Linked DNA regions of Homo sapiens: regions 2 and 3 are each linked to region 1. Evidence: promoter capture Hi-C in human tissues and cell types (Jung and others, 2019). All regions are on one chromosome and are shown on one strand. The core of a region is centred on a gene start or on the middle of the fragment in contact, and the rest is flanking DNA. Distances in the headings are between cores, read along the strand shown.

Region 1 (2,851 bases), core at 261-2,760:
CACTCAGTGATACGTAAAAATGGAAGTCAATAGCACTGCTTTGAAGATGGTCTTTTTTTTACATGAGTTTGTAGGCTGTCTCAGGACGCTTTTGGTTTATTGCTTTACAGAGCTCAGTCTAACAGATGAAAGCTTGAAAGGGGAGAGGAACAGGGGCCGCTGAAACATAAGAATAATAATTTCCAAGAAGCTTCTGGGAAGCTCTCCAGGTATTACCATGCAGTGTTTCCATGCCCCTACCCCATGCCCTTGAGTTAGATGAGGGATCAAGGAAACGGAAACTACCTTAGACTCTTCGATCCGTCTTTCTTTCCACACTTCTCCGTCATCTCAAGATGTCTCTATCACCTCACTCACTCATTGCCGCATCCCCTACCTAACTCATTCTCACAGTCTGGCCAGAGCCCAGCTTAGCTCAGGGGTCTCTCAGTCCCGTCTCCTTCAAGAAGACTTCCGGGCTCACTGCTCACTGTGAATAATCCCTTAAGGATGAATAACAGCTGCCATTTACAGTTAGTCATCATCTCCTGAAATCTCAAGCTAGACAGTGGCATACGTAGGACTCAGACCCCACACTCTCTGGTGTCAAAGTCTGAGCAGGTTTCCACTACATGTACTGTGCTTCAGCACATGGCTGAGGTGGGACTCTGCCCTGTCCTAGACTCCAGGCTGAATGAACTACTCTCACAGCCGCCTCTGTGGGCTGTTCCTGCAGAGAAACGAAGCTCCCTGGATGACCTCGGCCTCGCGCTCACCGCCTGCTCCTTCCCTTATAACAGCTTTAGGGCTTTGCTTTATTTTAAACGTTGGCACTTCCTTTTCTCTATTGATTTAAAAAATATTTTAAAATTCTAGCATATTAAAAAATCTAAACAATATTGAAAAAGTGGGGAAAAAATCTCCCTTACTGCCATCTCCTGATCTCAGTTCCACTCTACAAATGTAACTACTATTAATCATTTAGCGAAGATTTTTTCAGACTTTTTCTATATGTGTATAAATGTCTGTGTATGTTTGGGAAGTTTTTCTGACATCTCAGAGTTCTGTATCTATGTATCTTTGTTCTAAATCATCGTCCATTCCACATTGCAAGCTGCGAAACGGTAAGATAAATGTATTTTTAAATTAATCTACACAGCACCTGACCAAAGGAATACCTATTCTTGATGGATTTATAGGAGCACTTGTGTTGGAGACAGGGGTGGGAGGCAGGATCCCTCCAGAGAGACCCTGAGCTCACCAGGTGGGAAGCGCACATGAGCTCCGGGGAGGAGACCACACTTCATAAGCTCACCAGCAACTGGCCCGACCTGCCAGGGCGTGCACACTCCCCAGACTGCGAAATCACTCATGTGTGGGTTGTCCAGTGGCCGAGGGGAGGGGAGGGGAGAAAAGGGGAGGGGGAGGCACAAGGGTGGAATGTGGGCTGGGCCAAGTTTAGAATTTCAAGTGCCACAGAGGCGTTCTGGAACCACACTTTAAATAGCCAGCACCTTCTCCTTCCCCCTTAGATAATTCTTCTCCCCTGACTGGACCTCTGGCAGCAGCTTCACTAAGGTTCGAAATGTTTTCTTCTCTTTTTTTTCTATTTCTGCGTCTCAGACTGCAGGTTGGTGGGATCCATGGGACTTACAACCAAAGGACTTTTTTCTTACCCTCGCCTAGAAAGTACGCTTCTGACATGTATGTGTGCAAATGCAAAGATTATGTGCTATTTTCTTGACTTTCTGAAACTTGGGTGGCTGTTGACTTAAGTGACACTGTGATTTGGAAAGAGAGAGCCCTAGATTGAGAGGAAAGACAACTGGATTTAACTCCAAGAAAACAAAGTCTTTCTTCTCTGAGAAAAGAGAACAATGATCAACTCTGACAGGACTGAAAGAAAACAAAAATTTGAGTACCTGTTATTCTATTAAGTGTGTATACATATGTATATTTCCTCATTTAATTCTTATAGCTAAGTATATCCTATCTATCATCCCCACTTTTACAGATGAACAAACTAAGGCTCAGAGTCATTCATTAACTTCTCTGAAGTCAGACATTGGTATGAGAAAAAACTAATGTTTGAACCTGGCCTCATCTGACTCTACAGCTCATGACCTTTCAGACACAACATGCTACCTCTGAGAAGCAGCTCTAATGAGGCTAAGGGAGCCAGGAGAAGGCTACTGTTTCTCCTAGGGTCTGGGAGGGTGGAGAAGGGAAGGCTTTCCATCACTGGGAGAGATCCATCAGCTGGTAAAGGGAGGGGAGGCCAGCACAGTCAGTACCTTAGACAACCTTCCCAAAAGGACTGAGGAGCCCTCTTGGGACCAGTTACTTGAGTTTCTCCTTTGTAGAAAGGAGCTCATTCCCTAATTTATCAGATAAACATAGATGCCTGCTGTTCCCTGACTTTTTTTTTTTTTCTTTTTTTTGAGACAGAGTCTCGCTTTGTTGCCCAGACTGGAGTGCAGTGGCGCGATCTCGGCTCACTGCAACCTCTGCCTCCTGGTTTCAAGCGATTCTCCTGCCTCAGCCTCCTGAGTAGCTGGGATTACAGGTGCCTGCCACCATGCCCAGCTAATTTTTGTACTTTTCGTAGAGACGGGGTGTCACCATGTTGGCCAGGCTGGTCTCAAACTCCTGACCTCAGGAGATCCACCCGCCTCGGCCTCCCAAGTGCTGGGATTACAGGCGTGAGCCATTGCACCCGGCCTGTTCACTGACTTTCTAATTTTCTGGGTCAGAGCCAAAGTAGAGTCTGTGGCCAGAAGAGGTTACTGCTGAGAAAGTTCTGTTAACATGAACTTTGCTTGAGGCTTAGAAAAAAGTCCATCTGCCTCCTTCTCCAGAAAAGAGGCCACTC
Region 2 (2,700 bases), core at 76-2,575, 270 kb before region 1:
AAACTAACTGAATAAATAATTTAAAAATTTTTTTAATTCACTAGTAGAAAGTTTTCTGTGATCTCTGGAATTATCCATAAACATTATTTTTTAGCTCTCTCAAAGAGTAGGTACGGTAGAAGGTCCCTAGTAGAAAGTTTTCTGTGATCTCTGGAATTATCTGTAAACATTATTTTTTAGCTCTCTCAAAGGGCAGGTACAATAGAAAGTCCCTCACCTCTGAGAGCCAGGGGACAGGCTTGTTCCACTTCAAGTAGCTGCTGTTACTGCTCACCCCTTGGTCAATGTCGTGGTCCTAGGGGAAGAATGAAGAACGAAGTTGGTAGGAATATTAGGATGAGAAGCTACGGGCAGGACAGGAGGCACAGTGCCTGCTCCCAGGAGGCGTCGGCTCGGAGCACGCTGCCGTCTGTCATTCACACCATGTCCTGGGAATACATCTCCATAGTTTCATCAGCGCCTGCTCCTCGGGTTCCTTCACTTTTCTGAATTTTCTGTCCTCCCCATATGGGAAAGCAGTTTACCCTCTTTAGGTCAGGACCTCTTGAGGGCAGGGACCTCGGCTCCCTCTTCCTCCTTATCCCCCAGCTGTATAGATTTGGGTTCCAACAAGTGGGAGCCCCTCAGGGACACCACCAAACCCTCCCTATTGTGCAGGTCCACAGGTTCAGTTTGGCTCTGGTCCAGCTCTGGAATCCATGTCTGTTCTAGGCTCAGCCTTGGGGCTCCTGAATGAATTAGACCCCAGTTTCTCTAATCTGCCTCCTTAGGGACCATTGGTTCAAGAAGCACTGCAGGCAAATGCTCCACCACAAGTCTGTACTCCCAGCTACGGGCAGGGAGGGGTGTCCATCCACCTCGTCACCTCTGATCTCAGCAGCAAGCACAGCACAGCCCAGCCCTCACCCTAGTGAGAGGCACCACATGCCACTGGTGATGGAGGTCGCAGGCCCGGAGTGGTTCCGGCACGGGCAAACTGAACTAGGGAACGAGGGCAGACACCAGAAAACCAGGCCCAGTGGCAGCCCCAGTAAAAGTTTCCTTTTACTGGCTTTGAGGAGGCTGGATGGACATCTCTAAGGCTCAGCTAGGAGGTCCTGAGGCCAGACTAGGACTCTGGGGGCTGTTTATCCTCTGCCTCTCCTCCCAGAGTAGCAGAGGTTACCCTTAAGGCAACTGGGCAGAGCACCTGCGGACCTTTGTTAAGGCATCAGCAGGGACAATGGACTGGCTGGTCACCTACCTCGAGGCTCAGCCTCTGGGGATGGTAGAACTGGAGGTGTGGATCCACAGCTGGAATGTTCCTGCTGGCCAGAGCCTTGGCCAGTTCTCTCCAGCTGCCGTACCCTGTGGAAGGGGAAGAGAGGAGCCCTCAGGTCAGCGTAACCTGGAAACCTCATACACCTAAAAGATTTGGGAGGTTAATGGAGGGAACCGTCTTCCCTTCTCACCTCTCTTCAGAGGGTGGGTGGGAAGAGGGCTGGGCTGGGGGCAGGAGATAGCTGCAGACTGGCCAAGGCCCACAGGGCAGAGAGAGGAGATGAGCTTACATCCCATCAGCAGTCACCGCCTTCCAGAAACCAGAGAAGGAGCCAGTCCAGGTGAGCCTGGACCACGGGCCTCCCACTACCAGCTCGTTCTCCCCCGGCTGCCTCTGGAGGCCAATTTATCCCGAGAGCTGCCGTGGAGAGATGGTCGTGACAGGCGGTACACTCTTCCCTTCCTGCTCAGTTTCTGTGCCCTGAGCCCGGGGAACAGCAGAGGCTTACTAATGGGTGGGGACCCCCTACCACTGATCACTGGGTTGCTGGATAGAGCCGGAGCTGAGAGAGGCAGGAAAGAGTGGGCCTGGGATGTGATGTCTGTCAAACAAAGGTATAAACCACTGGAGATACAAGATCAGAGGCCCTGCTATTACTGGAGTCACCGGGAGGCTGCGTGTGGCTGACGCTGTCTGTACCCTGAAGGCTCTGGACCAGGTTGGCTTACACGCACCTGGGAAGGCAAAAAGCCAAACCATGGCGAGAGGGAGGGAGGGAACAGGAAACTGGGGGGTGCACGCGCATTCACAAGTCAGGAGGCAAGGGGCTGCACCAGGGTGAGGGCCGGGGAGAATCAGTCCGGCGGCCGGCCACTGCTGACACTCCCGAGGGCTGGGACTCCCATCTCAGAGGAGATTGCTGGGCTTTGGATAAGTGGAACCAAACCACTGTTAGTCACAAACCAGAACCGTAGACCACTGGAAGCGAAAGAGGCTTTTGAGATCACCTCATCCTCCCTTCAAGTGAGGAAAATGGGACCCACACTGGTCAAATGGCTGATCAAGGCTCACTTAGCAAGTAGTGGCAAGGCTAAGACTAGGACCCCAGTGTGCCACGGATTTCCACTGAGCTCCCCTTTCCCTCAACAGCTTCACCACGATGTCCCCAGGATGCTGCGCTGGGCACTGCTTAGACGGAATTAGCCTGACAGTCCCCGACCCCTGGGAGCCAAGAGTCGACAGTAGGCAGAAGTGTCACAGAGGAACCCCTACGTGAGCACCAGCAGAGACACAGACAGCCACGCAGACACAGAACACAGAGCACCACCCACGAATATGGGCTTCACCGAAGGTGGCCACCCACGCTATGCACGAGTGTTTCTGTAACAGGCCTGGGGAGGGGTGGGATCAGGGGCTGCACGCTGAAATGCAGGTGTGGG
Region 3 (2,787 bases), core at 243-2,742, 480 kb before region 1:
CATCTGTGATCCCAACACTTTAGGAGCCTAGGAAGATTACTTGAGACCGGGAGTTCAAGACCAGCTTGGGCAAAATAGCAAAACCCTGTCTCTACAGAAAATAAAAATAAAAGACTTTTTAGGACACAAAAAGCACAAACCATAAAAGAAAAAATTGTTAAACTGGACTTCATCAAAATTGGAAGTTCGTGTTCTTTTTTGTTTGGTTTGTTTTTTACAGAGTAGAGACAAGGTCTTCCTGTGTTACCTAGGCTGGTCTCAAACTCCTGGGCTCAAGGAATCTTCCTGCCTCAGCCTCCCAAAGTGCTGGGATTACAGGTGTGAACCACCGTGCCCAGCCAGAAATGTTTGTTCTTTAAAGATGATATTACAAAAATGAAAGGGCCACAGACTGGGAGTCAATATTGCAAAACAAATATCTGAAAAAATATTTGTAAACAGAATATATAGGAAACTCTTACAATTCAACCTTAAGATAATAGTACAGTAAAAATGTGTGCAAAAGATTTGAACAGATACTTCACCAAACAATATAAATGAAAGGATAAATAGGCACATGAAAAGATGTACATCATTAGTCATTAAGGAAGTGAAAATTAAAATTACCATGAAATATCACCACATACCCACGAAAATGACTAAAATTAAAAATGGTTGGTGAGGATGTAGAGCAACTAGTTTCTCATACGTTGCTACCGGGAGTACAGTGGTTCAGCCAGTTTGGGAAATAGCTTGACTCTCTAATAATTAAAGTTGAACATATACTTACCACATGATCTAGCAATTCCACTGCCAGATATTTAACCCAAGAGAAATGGAAACATGTCCACACAAAGACTTGCATGGAAAATTTCATAACAATTTTACTCATGATAGCCAAAAACTAGAAACAAACCGAATATCTATCAACTGGTGAACAGGCAAGTAAATTGTGTTGTGCCCTTATGATGGAATGCTACTCAGCAATAAAAATAAACGAAGTGGTATGTGCAATCATATGGATAACTCCCAAAGCATGATGCTAAATGAAAGAAGCCAGACACAGAAGTCTACTGATTTCATTTATGTGGCCATGTAGAAAACCCAAAACTGGCGGCAGAATGATCAGTTCTGGGGTTAGAGGGGGAGGAAATGAACTGCAGAGGAGCGCAGAGAACTTTTTGAGTCACGAGAATGTTTTCTGTCTTAATTTTGGTGATGGTTACATGACTGTATTCATTCAAAACTCATTAAGTGGGTGATTATACTTTTTTTTTTAAGGACAGGGTCTTGCTCTGTTGCCCAGGCTAGAGTGCTGTGGTGCAATCATAGCTCATCACAGCCTCAAATTCCTGGGCTCAAGGGATCCTCAGGCCTCAGCCTCCTGAGTAGCTGGGACTACAGATGCACACCACCATGCCAAGCTAATTTTTTTTTTTTCGTAGAGACGGGGATCTTGCTATGTTAATGATTATCCCAACTTGGTCTCCCAAAGTGCTGGGATTACAGGTGTGAGCCACCGCACCTGGCCCTGACTATACTTTAAATGGGCAATTTTTTATTGTATATAAGTTATTCTTCAAGAAATCAGATTTTTAAAATGATATTTAGTTGTGCCAAAATTATTGAAACATAATATTGAATTATTGAATACTCTATAAAGCATCCTATTCTGCTTACAAACTATTTGTCTCAATACCCAAGAGATATGAAACCTACCTGAAAAGTCTACATACACTCTATGGTAAAAATGAAAAAATGATATTACTAATTCAGTTTGAAAAACCTTTAAGCAATGGTCATTTTCATCCATTTCGATGGTTGGGAGGGATAGGGATAGCTATCAAGACAGATATTGAAAAGATTCTGAACATAATGTTCACCTGAGTACCTCCTTACCAGTAAATAGAAGGACAAGCTTCCCAACTCCTTATGATCTCTAAGAGTTTGCTTACATTATTTAGTCATTTATGATCAAGGCACATTCTGTATGCTACTTATATATTCATAATTTGACATTCAGTGATAATTTTTTGAATCTTTTTTTTTTTGAGACGGAGTCTTGCCCTGTCGCCCAGCCTAGAGTGCAATGGCGCAATCTCAGCTCACTGCAACCTCCGCCACCCAGGTTCAAGCAACTCTCCTGCCTCAGCTTCCCGAGTAGCTGGGATTACAGGCACCTACCACCACGCCTGGCCGATTTTTGTATTTTTAGTAGAAATGGGGTTTCACCATGCTGGCCAGTCTGGTCTCGAACTCCCGACCTCAGGTGATCTGCCCACCTCGGCCTTCCAAAGTGCTGGGATTACAGGCGTTAGCCACCGCGCCCAGCCAATTTTCTGAATCTTAAGATAATTTTACTGAACATACTTTGCTTAATTAACCTCTACAGTCAGGTTAATTCTGTAACCAAAAAGAGTATTTAGCAAATTCAACAACAGCAATAATATTATCATCTTCCAGCGTCTGCCTGTGTTTGGACCAATTGAAGATATGGTAAATTGACTCCCTTAGAATAGCTGGGAATTAGGAAAAGAGTGCCAAACTCTATAGCAGGTAATACTTCTCAGTAGATAGAAGTATACATTCTCTTAAGACAGTAATAATACTCTTTAAATAGTAGTCTCGGCCAGGTGCAGTGGCTCACACCTGTAATCCCAGCACTTTGGGAGGCCAAGGTGAGTGAATCACCTGAGCTCAGGAGTTCGAGACCAGCCTGGCCAACATGGCAAAACCCTGTCTCTACTAAAAATACAAAAATTTGCTGGGCGTGGTGGCATGCACCTGTAATCCCAGCTACTTGGGAGG

The links. Contacts are between HindIII fragments. The study calls those that stand out against the background at their distance.
Region 2: a fragment that was not itself captured here is called in contact with the fragment with the promoter of SLC6A13 in region 1 in 2 of the 25 tissues and cell types used here (lymphoblastoid cells and spleen).
Region 3: a contact is called between a fragment that was not itself captured here and the fragment with the promoter of SLC6A13 in region 1, in 2 of the 25 tissues and cell types used here (dorsolateral prefrontal cortex and liver).

Annotation. Positions count from the first base shown.
Region 1 is chr12:261,495-264,345 of GRCh38, reverse strand. SLC6A13 (solute carrier family 6 member 13) reads left to right here and starts at 1,510. Exons shown (of 15, transcript NM_016615.5): 1 at 1,510-1,557. The HindIII fragment of the contact is 8,106 bases long and covers 1-2,851 here.
Region 2 is chr12:533,813-536,512 of GRCh38, reverse strand. B4GALNT3 (beta-1,4-N-acetyl-galactosaminyltransferase 3) reads right to left here. Exons shown (of 20, transcript NM_173593.4): 2 at 1,244-1,347; 3 at 218-295. Among named protein-coding and RNA genes, the nearest start is that of B4GALNT3, 75 kb to the right of the region's middle. RefSeq lists an enhancer at 1,579-2,078. The HindIII fragment of the contact is 4,738 bases long and covers 1-2,700 here.
Region 3 is chr12:741,905-744,691 of GRCh38, reverse strand. No RefSeq gene overlaps it. Among named protein-coding and RNA genes, the nearest start is that of WNK1, 9.3 kb to the left of the region's middle. RefSeq lists an enhancer at 1,217-1,336. The HindIII fragment of the contact is 8,426 bases long and covers 1-2,787 here.